Regions from separate parts of the Homo sapiens genome. Here all the other regions are linked to region 2. Evidence: promoter capture Hi-C in 16 types of primary human blood cells and fetal thymus (Javierre and others, 2016). All regions are on one chromosome and are shown on one strand. The core of a region is centred on a gene start or on the middle of the fragment in contact, and the rest is flanking DNA. Distances in the headings are between cores, read along the strand shown. Region 1 overlaps CTTNBP2NL (CTTNBP2 N-terminal like). Region 2 holds the start of RHOC (ras homolog family member C). Region 3 overlaps LINC01357 (long intergenic non-protein coding RNA 1357).

Region 1 (3,416 bases), core at 139-2,638, 250 kb before region 2:
CAGGATTACCAGTTCTTCACATTTTTTGAAATCCAAATTTTCATGAGAAACATTCTCATTTTTAAATATCAAGAAGTGATTTTAAAATGTTTAAATGGTGCTGGTTAAACAAACACGTCTGCAGCTGGATTTAGCTTGCAAGCTGCCAAGTTGCAACCTCTTTCATTCTAGAAACTTCTGTCATTTTCATCATAGCAAGTCTATGCGGACAAAAGCCTCCAAACTTTCCAACTGTGTAGGCCAGTACAGCTGGCAAGGTTCATAGAATATAATGGCTATCCCCCTCTGCCAAATAAGACTATCCACAACCCAGCTCAGACACAGTGGTTATATGATTTTGTGTCCATACAGGAGAGGCCTTGGTGTCTTCACATACATTCTCTGAGCCAACATCTATCCAGCAGCCCTGACCTCCTGCTATAATTTAAGTCTATTTCCTTTTAATCTAATAAGAGTTGATAGTAAAAAGGCAGGTGATGGAAATCAGTGTATAAATCACAATGGAGTATATTGGCAACTCCACAGCTTATAGTTTGATAAAGGCAAATACATGAAAAATAAAAATGCTACTAATGCCCCAAGGTGTCTATCAAAATGATGTAGGGGGTATCTTAAACTGTCCAAGGCAATCATGCATTGAACTTTATTCCTATGCAGAGCCAAAACGAATAGTGTTGATAAAATAGCTAAACTTTCTAAACTGGAGAGGAGGCTACAGTGCCAGAGAGTTATTGTCTCTTTTGCTTTAAATGGTAATCTTAAAAGTTGCATTGTGCTCTTCCTTTGTTTTGGGATAGATATATATAGAGAGAGATACTATAAGGAAGTTTATTTCTTAGGAAGTGCACTGAATAATGTATTTCTTTTACAGTGTAATATGGGGGTGGGGATATGCGAAAGAAATGTGTATTTTTGCTAGTTGCCTACCTTCTGAGATAAATAAGCACAATCTTGCAATGGATCCAATAACCCAGTTAGGTATTATAGATTAGTATTTAAGTTTGCTGTAGATTGTGTGTGTGTGTGCTAAGTAAAAGTTCCATGATTCACAATTTTAGTATTAACCCATGTTGCAAAAGCTGTTACTGGCCAACAGATTGTAATGATGTGTACCATATAACACAAGCATTAACTAGGCATTAACGTTTGTAAAGCCAAATATACCATGCAGAAGTCTTCATTTTTATAGCAGACTGCATTAAAACAAGTTAAATCTTGCTGTTTGGGGGGAAATAGTCTTGTTTGTACAAAGTGAAAAATGGCACAATTTGGGCATATTTTGTTGGGAAGAGGGGGTGGTGTAGAGGGAGCACTTGACTGTGGCTTTGACAAAACAAATGAAGTCAATGACCCATCCAGGTTAGACTCCATAAGGAACTAAGACATTGATTTTCTTTAGAGTCTTAGAGCTGGAAAAAGCCTTTACAATAATCCAGTCTGTGATTTTTTAAACCTTTTGGTGGTTCTGGACCTTTTTGAGAATCTTAGAAAAGCCATGGAGTTTATCCCTAGAAAAATGAATATGCCTATATGCAAAATTTGTTTGATGGCTTCATAGGATCCAAAGACCCTGAAGCCATCCATGGCTCATGTATTTCTGCTTAAGAAAGCATAATCTTGTTCTGCTCTCTCATTTTACAAATGATTAATGCATCCCTTTTCAACTACTCCAGCGCTGTTGCTGCTGCAATGTTAGCAAATGCAAGCCAGAGAGAAGCACTTGAAAATCCTTTGATGTCTAAAAAATGTTCAAATAGTGTGGATGTTTACATATCTGAAGTTTTCAGCATTTAAGCAAATTAATGATCATTTCAACAAATACTAGCATATCCGGTTTCCCTTAATAGCCTGTCAGCAGTGCTGCCTTGTCAATTTGTGTGTGTGTGTGTGTATGTGTGTGTGTGTGTGAATTCATAAGGAGTGCTTCTGATGCTTAGTCCTTGAAATGGAACTTCAACTGTCTTTCAAAACACTGGCTTCAAAATAGGATGTGTTTTCCTAATGAATCAGAAGTGGGCAATGAGCATTGTTCCACAGGAATAATTTTTAATTTAATTTCTATAAAACTAGTTGAGAAATGAGAGCCTGTCCACCCACCATTTGTGTATCAGTGGCCAATTCATTAGTAAAAATAAAGGAGGGGAAAGGAGACTGGAGTAGTGGTTCTCAAACTTTACTGTGCGTAAGTATAACCTGGGAAGCCTGCTAAAATAAAGATTTCTGGAGATTAGATCCTCAGACTAGCTGATGCAGCTAGTCTGTTTTGAGAAACAGTCCTTCATAGCCCTTACCTGTTCTTTCACAACAACTTGCTATTTGCCTCTGACCTAAGGAAATGTCTTAAGCTCCTGAAACTGGTTTGGCAGAATGTCAGTGATATTCAGAGTCAAGAGTGCCTACTTGAGTACCAAGCACCATGCTAATGATTTCACATACATATTACCTTATTAATCCTCACACGGGTGCTGTGAGGTATTATTATCCCCAGTGTAGTGATGAGGTAGTTGAGGGCCAGAGATCTGTGCAAGGGCCCTTAGCATATGACAGCCAGGATTTAAACCTTAGTGCTTTGTTCTTTCACTACCAGTATTTCCCAAATGAGAGTCTCTGGGGAGGAGCAGATTCCCAGGCTCCTCCCCTGGCGATTCTGATTTCAGTAGGCAAAGGTGGAGCTCTAGATAAATGCCTTGGTGATTCTTCAGATAGAGCAAGTTTAGAAAATGCATGCGGGACACCATGCTGCTCCACAGCCACCCCAGAAATGGATCATCAGACCTAATCAATGCCAGGAGACCTTCATCAGGTCAGATAAATGGAACAAAAATAAAACATCATTAATTCCCCTCAAACAACATGTTTTTTAAGTATCTAAGATGAACCAGAAAGCAAGGTGCTTATTAGGGAAGACACAAGTTTAATCCTGTTCCCTGCCCTTAGGGTACTCACAATCTAGTTGGGGAAACAAAACATTAACAAAATGATACATAGTGAGTCCAGAGGCAACAGTTTGATAGAATAATGCAGGCGAGCTTTTAAAAACCACAGGGAGGGCCAGGCGCGGTGGCTCTTGCCTGTAATCCCAGCACTTTGGGAGGCCGAGGCGGGTGGATCACGAGGTCAGGAGATTGAGACCATCCTGGCTAACACGGTGAAACCTCGTCTCTACTAAAAAATACAAAAAATTAGCCGGGTGTGGTAGCGGGCGCCTGTAGTCCCAGCTACTCGGAAGGCTGAGGCAGGAGAATGGCGTGAACTCGGGAGGCGGAGCATGCAGTGAGCCGAGATAGCGCCACTGCACTCCAGCCTGGGCGACAGAGCAAGGCTCTGTCTAAGAAAAAAAAACCATACACAGTTATTGAAGATGGTTCTGGTAAAAGCACTCTGGTAGCTCAGAGGTAACAGAGCTCTTTGTGGGC
Region 2 (3,574 bases), core at 169-2,668:
ACCCACTCCATTAGTTCACCTTGCCCTGTTTTGTAAAGATGGGCTGGGGTAGCCCCAACCTGGGGTGGGCAGTGTTGATGGAGGGCAATCACTACTGGGGTGAAAGCCAGTCACTTAGGCATGAGTATGCCACTGCTGTCCCCCCAGCAGGGTAATTCAGACGGCACCAGAGTGGTGGGAGGCAGAGGACAGAAACCCGGGGTTGAGGCATGCGTTAAGGGACCTGGAGCCTCCAGCCCAATTAGAAGACTTTCCCTCCAGGCTATGATTGGGCCAGAACAGCAGGCAGCCCAGGCCAGGACACTAGGCCCAAGGCCAAGATGGCATGGACAACTCCCTGTGAGAGGCAGCCCCAGAGGGACTGTCCCACTGACCCCTTAAGAGGGGCAACTGAGCCCCACACAGGGCCTGGAATGGAGCCTGGAACTTCTGGGGCCTTCCCCAAGACAAGACAGTGTGGCTACATCAGACCTCTCTCCAATCGCTCTCTTGAATTCCCAGATGATCCAGAGCGGCCGGTTGACTTTGCCGGCCCACCCTACACCTAGGGAAGGAATCCGTTCTGGAGATACCAAGAGATACTGCATTCTCAACTTTAAAACCAGAGTGAGGGCGGGACTCGGCCTCGGGATCCCAGTCCCAAACCCCAGGATACTCTTTCTTGGTTCGAGTATGAAGAAGGAGGATTCTCAATCTCATTTTCTCTCTCTCTCTCTCTCTCTACACACACACACACACACACACACACACACACACCACACACACACACACACACACACACACACACACACACACACACACACACACACACACACACACACACACACACAGAGTTGGATCCTTCCCCATCTCCCTTATCCTCAACACAAGCGGGCTCCAGGAACCGTCCAGGGCGGCGTCCAGACCCTGCCGAGCAGTGGCAGGCCCCAATGGTCACATCCCGCCCCTATTCCCGCCATACCTCCCTCCTGGCCTGGAGGAATTCCCACCCCATCCCACTCTAGGTCCCCTGCGGCCGCCCACCCTGGGGGCTGGGGCGTCTGAGTTGAAGTTCCCTCGCCCCTCGCCCGGCGGGGCAGGTTCCGGGAAGCTGGGAGGAGAAGGGAAGGGGCTCCGACTCGGACCTCAGGAGGCCAGAGCCCCTGCCGGCAGGTCCGGGCCCCCTCGCTGCAGCCCGGGGAGGGGCCGACGCGGTCCGACCACCGCCCAGCCCGGATGCCGACTCCGCTTGGAGGGAACGGGGTCCACGCCCAGGCCGAAGCCCCTCCTCGCACGGGCCCCGATCTCCGGGCCAGCGAGGAAGGGAAAGTGCTCTCCTGGGGACGAGTTCCCAAGACGCCCCACCGCCCGCAGCCCCGGCCCAGGGTACCTTCCGCTCCGCCGCCTCCAGCTGCGCGGCCGGTGCCGGAGGCTCAGACTGACCCCAGGGCCCCGCCCCGCCCTCCTCCAGCGCCGCGGCGGGGAGGGCGGGCCCGGCAGGGGGAGGGTCGGCCGGGGGCGGCCCTTGGCTCGGCCCGCCCCGGCCCCGCGCAGGGCCGCAGCCACCGGCCCCCTCCGCAGGCCGGGGACTGGGGGCCAGGGGCGTCCACCCCTCCAGGTCGGGGAGAGCCACGGGGAGATTCCTGGACTGCGGAGGAGCCGGGCGAGCGGGGGGAGCACGACCCGGGTGGACTCAGACTCTGCCCAGCCTTCAATCCCCTAGGGGAGGACCGGCGTCGGGAAAGTTAAGAGGTGCTCGGGGTGGGGTCAGGAAGGGCCGCTGCTGCCCTCCTGTGGCCAAGCGGCCACCCGCTCCTGCTGCACCTGGGACCTCGCGGGAAGCGGGACTGGGAAAGGGTATCCGCCGGGAGGTCCCAGGGCCCGGCGCGGGTGTGTTGGTTGGGGGGAGATGTCCACCCTCTTGTTCCTAGGATCGTACAGCCCAACGTCATCCCCCAAACTTGAAGACCTCTCAGAGCCGTTCAGACCCAGACCACCGTTCCTCCTCACAATTCGCTTTCTTCCCTGGGCCTGGAATTTCCAGGAGTCCAATTCCTACCTACTCCTCAAAGGGTGCGCCTAGAAATGCTTCTGGATCCCAGCTGTGAATTCTGTTCCCACTCCTAGGTCTGACTTGGCGCATAGGATATTTACCTACACGCGTATCTCCTTTCCCTGTAAGGGAGCTGAGGAGGTGGGAGTAGAATGAGGACGTCCACCAACATTTCATTGGCTTGTGCTTGGGACACTACACAGCTTAACCCTTTCAATATTCATCACAGATCTCTGGGGAAAATATACCCATCCCCTTTTGCCCATAGAGAAGCTGAGGTTCAGAGAAATCAAGTGGCTTACACAACTGTTTTTGACTTGTGACAGCAAGAATTCACACAGCCGGGCCTGTCTGGCTCCAAACTGGTGGTCTGGCCCTGCTACCTCACGGGCTCCTCCAGCCTGTCCCTTCCCCCGTTGTCTAGCAGAGTGAGTGGCACATAATAGGTTGTCAACAAATATTTGATGAATGAATGAATGTTAGGAGTCATACAGACTTTAAATATCTGAAGTGCAATCCAGACATTTGACAAATGTGAAAACAGGTCCGCAGCAGTTTGGCCCCAGGCCTCTTAACTGACTCAATGAACATTTCTCGAGGGTGAACTGAGAGCTATGTTCGGAAGATCCATTTCTGCCTTCAAACAACTTAGAGTCTAAATGAGGAATGCAATTTCAAGATAGCTAACATTTATTGAATCCATATTACATGGACCTGGGTCCACATACATTAACTACAAGAATCCCATGAGGTAGCTATCTCCATTTTACTGAGAAGCAAATTGAGGTTCAGAGAGGTTACAGAGCTAGTGCTGGGTCTGACACTAGAACCCAAACAGCTGAACTCTAGAGCCCCTGTTCTTAATTCCTACTCCCTACTGACTCCTAATGTAGACAGTTACAATACCGGAGGTCATTGCTGTAGTGTGGGCATGTGTGGGCTGTGCGATACCCAGTCCTGAACAACAGGTGAAGTTCTCAAGATAAGGTGATGTGTAGATTTTTTTAATTTTAATTTTTTTTTGAGACAAGGTCTCTGTTGCCTAAGTGTGCAGTGGCAAGATCTCAGCTCACTGCAGCCTCAACTTTCCAGGCTCCAATGATTTTCCCACTTCAGCTTCCCCAGCAGCTGAGACTACAGGCGTGTACCATCACACCTAATTTTTGTATTTTTTGTACAGATGAGGTCTTGCTATATTGCCCAGGCTGGTGAGGGGCCTTTTCTAATTATTTTGCTCATCTTTATTTTTGCTTCCCTTAACTTACTTTGGGTTTAATTTGCTGTTCTTTTTCTAGCCTCTTAAGGTGGAAACAGATCACTGATTTGAGATCTTTATTCTTTTCTACTATAAGCAATACTCTTAATTTCCTTGGATGCTTAACTGCTTCCCACAGGCACTCACCACTACATTCAGCTAATTTTTTATTTTTTTGTAGAGATGGGGTCTCACTATTGCCCAGGGTGGTCTTAAACTCCTGGGCTTAGCAGTCCTCTCACCTCTGCCTCCCAAAGTGTTGGGATTACAGGCGTGAACCACCGTGT
Region 3 (3,215 bases), core at 38-2,537, 170 kb after region 2:
ACCCCTGTGACACTCGTTTATCTGTGTAACAAACCTTCACGTGTACCCCCAAACCTAAAATAAAAATTAAAAAAAAAGAAAAAGATATGGCTATGAGGTGGTAATAACATACAACAAGCTTTATTTGGGCCGTGTTTTGACAGGGTTGCCTGCTGAGGAAGCTTTTCACAGCATGAGACCTTCCGCAGGTAATGACTGAGGCCACCAGCTAGAAGAGAAGGAGGGTGGGGGAGATTCTGGGGGACACGGAGATTGGAGCGGATCCTTAGATGTCTAGATGATGCCCTCAGTAGTAGGGTGTGGAGTCTCAGAGTCAGAGAGATCCAAAGGGCAGCTATGGCTGGTGCTTTTTTTTTTTTTTTTTTTTGAGACAGAGTTTCCCTCTATGGCCCAGGCTGGAGTGCAGTGGCGTGATCTTTGCTCACTGCAAGCTCCGTCTCCCAGGTTCATGCCATTCTCCTGCCTCAGCCTCCTGAGTAGCTGGGACTACAGGTGCGTGCCACCACATCCGGCTAATTTTTTGTATTTTTAGTAGAGACGGGGTTTCACCGTGTTAGCCAGGATGGTCTCGATCTCCTAACCTCATGATCCACCAGCCTCAGCCTCCCAAAGTGCTGGGATTACAGTTGTGAGCCACCATGCCCGGCAACTGGGGCCTTTTATAGCACCAGAGTTTATTGTATCTGTGGCTAGTAAATGTGGGATTCTGTTTTGTGGGGTATGCAAAACCGGAAGGCTGTCAATGACTAACGATCTGTTTATTTAGACTATATTTAAAGCAATTGGGTGTATAAAAAATTTGAGCTTGGCACTGGTAAACTTTTGAGGCAATGATACCAGTCTGCTGTGAAGCAATAAAAAATATAGGGCCAATATAGAGTTAATATAACTTTGGCTTATTATGTAACAGCATGTCTGTCTTTGATTCTTTAGGCTCAATCAAACCTTCAATGGCCCCGAAAGACATCTTGATTGAAACCTCATGAGAGACTCTGAGCCAGAAAACCCAGCAACTTAGAACCCAGATACCTGACCATCAGCCACTGTGTGAAATAATAAATGTTTGTTGTTTTAAGCTGCTAGTAATATGAGTGTCTTGAGAAACAAAGCCAGTCGGGCTGCACTTAAGGCTGGCTTTGTGTTCCCTCCAGCCTTTGTCTTCCCCCATCATGACAACTTGTGCTCTTTCTCCCAGGAGGCTGAGGATGCTGCTCTGAAACCAGCCAGGCAAGAACCTCAGTTAGCATCAGCAACAGCTGCTCCTCAATTTGCTTTCTGAATTATTTAGCCCTTCTTTGCTTCTATCCTAAATCCAGACCTTTTAAAATATTAATATTTTAAATATGCCTGGGCCTTGGCTTGGAAGTCTGTATTTCTCTCCTGTCTCTGCCCAAGGCTAGACGTCTTAGAGAAGAGTTATCTCTGCCCTGAATGATTTTCTCTTTGGCTCTGGCTCCTGGAAATTAAATCTGGCTGGGTTCTAACCAAAGAAAGGGAAACCATTTTCACAATGGAATCAAAAGAGTTTCTTTTCTACAAATGCAGCCTTTTACTTGCCCAAGCTCACAGGGCTTGTGTCACAGCTGGTGATCTGAGACCCAGACCCTCTCACCACCTCCCAGCCACCACCACGCCAGAGGGAGACAAAGCTCGCACTGCTGTGAGACGTTCTCTGCTTCCCATGACCGCTGCGTCATTTACTTATCTCTCAGTTCTCCTGCCACCCCGTGAAGTCCCTGAAACCTCTGGGGATGCAGGAGCCCAACACAGCCGACAGACCAGGAGAGGGGTCCTGAGCTCTGCTGTCGTGCAGTGGCTCTCTGCTGGCCTTCATGTCCTTACCTGCAAGTTGAGAGGGTGGCACCATCTCTCAGGGCTGCAGAAGTTGGAGTTTGTGAGTCTGAAACCCCATTTGGCCGTTAGAAAGCCAAGTCGCACAGGTTATAATACACCTCTGACTGGCCCCCAGGACTTGATTCCTCACCCAGGGTTCAATCCTACAACTGGGCTGCGCCTCACTCACCTCCCCAGACTTTATGCCAGGCATAGAGGGAAGTGGGACCTTTATTCTGAGAGCTAAGGGAGGGCTCCTTCCTGCTTCTCAGCCTTCTCAGGAGCCCTTCCCTGGGCACCTTCTTTGCCTGGTGAACTCAGACTTTCCTTCCTTCAGTGCAGAGCCACCCCCTAACTCCTGCCCACCCAGCCTCTCAGAGCAGGGCAGGATGGCCTATCCAATATCCCCTCTCCCTCACCCTTGCATCCTCTCCTGGTCCTTTGGGGCATTCCCCAGATGTGTGAATTTACTATTAATTCTGTCTCCCCTGTTAGTCTGTTAGTTCCAGACAGGGCAGGAAACTATAACCTCTAGGAAGGGCTGTATCTGTGTTTCAACAATTCCTGATTTTCATATCCTGAAGCTTCAGAACCCCTGGAATAATTCCCAAGCAAATCAGCAGCCTCTCCTTCCAGCCAGGAGGCATCACAGCTCCAACGTAGCACAACCCAGCTTGGGGGCTTGGGCTACTGGAAGGGAGGCCACAGGGTCAAGATTAGGCTGGAGATGCCTCAGAAAGTATCTAGAAATGTCTGGTATGACCAGGCTGCAATCAGAAGAGGAGTGTCCAGGCCACTGGGTGACTGTCCTACTATGTCCCAATGGCTCCATCATTCACGGAGCGCTGCAGAACTTCGAATGTGGGACAAACACATGCCCCTAGGACTGTTGAGGTTGCTCACCTCCTCAATCTAGACCTGATCTGTTCAGAAGGCAGGGACAGGGTCTGCACTACCCTGTCTTCCTCACAGCCTGGCACAGGCCTGGCACCCATAAGCCCTTGCTCTGTGGCTCTGCCTGGCAGAAGCTGACCCAGTGTCAGAAGAGCCTTCTAGCAGTTGGAGCTGCCTGGGCACCAAAAGGGCTGCTTGAGAGGATGAGTCCCTGTCACTGTCAGTGCTCAGGCTGAGACCACATTAGCTGGGTCAGGTGCTAAGCTGGGAGTGCTGTGCTGGGAGGGAATTGCCTTCTGTTAGTTGTTCATTTCTTAGCTTGAATCATTTCCCACAGCATTTCAATAGCTAGGTAAATCAAGTCTCCCTAGTGGAATCTTAGATGATAGGTGAGGAGGGTGGTTTTGGGGCAGCGGATCCAGGCTACTGTTTCTGAAATCACTGCTCATGAGCAGCTCCCTATTCTTCTAGCTGAGGTCATCTCAGCT

The links. Contacts are between HindIII fragments. The CHiCAGO score rates a contact against its expected background, and 5 or more counts as called.
Region 1: a fragment that was not itself captured here is called in contact with the fragment with the promoter of RHOC in region 2 in 2 of 17 cell types (total B cells and naive B cells); the score reaches 7.3 in total B cells.
Region 3: a contact is called between a fragment that was not itself captured here and the fragment with the promoter of RHOC in region 2, in 1 of 17 cell types (endothelial precursors). The highest score is 5.9, in endothelial precursors.

What each region holds. Positions count from the first base shown.
Region 1 is chr1:112,459,014-112,462,429 of GRCh38, forward strand. It overlaps CTTNBP2NL (CTTNBP2 N-terminal like), which reads left to right. Exons shown (of 6, transcript NM_018704.3): 6 at 1-2,151. MIR4256 (microRNA 4256) reads right to left here and starts at 2,820; the gene lies at 2,757-2,820. The HindIII fragment of the contact is 4,916 bases long and covers 1-3,416 here.
Region 2 is chr1:112,705,709-112,709,282 of GRCh38, forward strand. It overlaps RHOC (ras homolog family member C), which reads right to left and starts at 1,419. Exons shown (of 6, transcript NM_175744.5): 1 at 1,370-1,419. RefSeq lists a silencer at 1,139-1,858. The HindIII fragment of the contact is 12,151 bases long and covers 1-3,574 here.
Region 3 is chr1:112,876,797-112,880,011 of GRCh38, forward strand. It overlaps LINC01357 (long intergenic non-protein coding RNA 1357), which reads left to right. Exons shown (of 2, transcript NR_189282.1): 2 at 934-1,075. Among named protein-coding and RNA genes, the nearest start is that of MIR11399, 3.6 kb to the right of the region's middle. RefSeq lists an enhancer at 1,459-2,056. The HindIII fragment of the contact is 2,256 bases long and covers 160-2,415 here.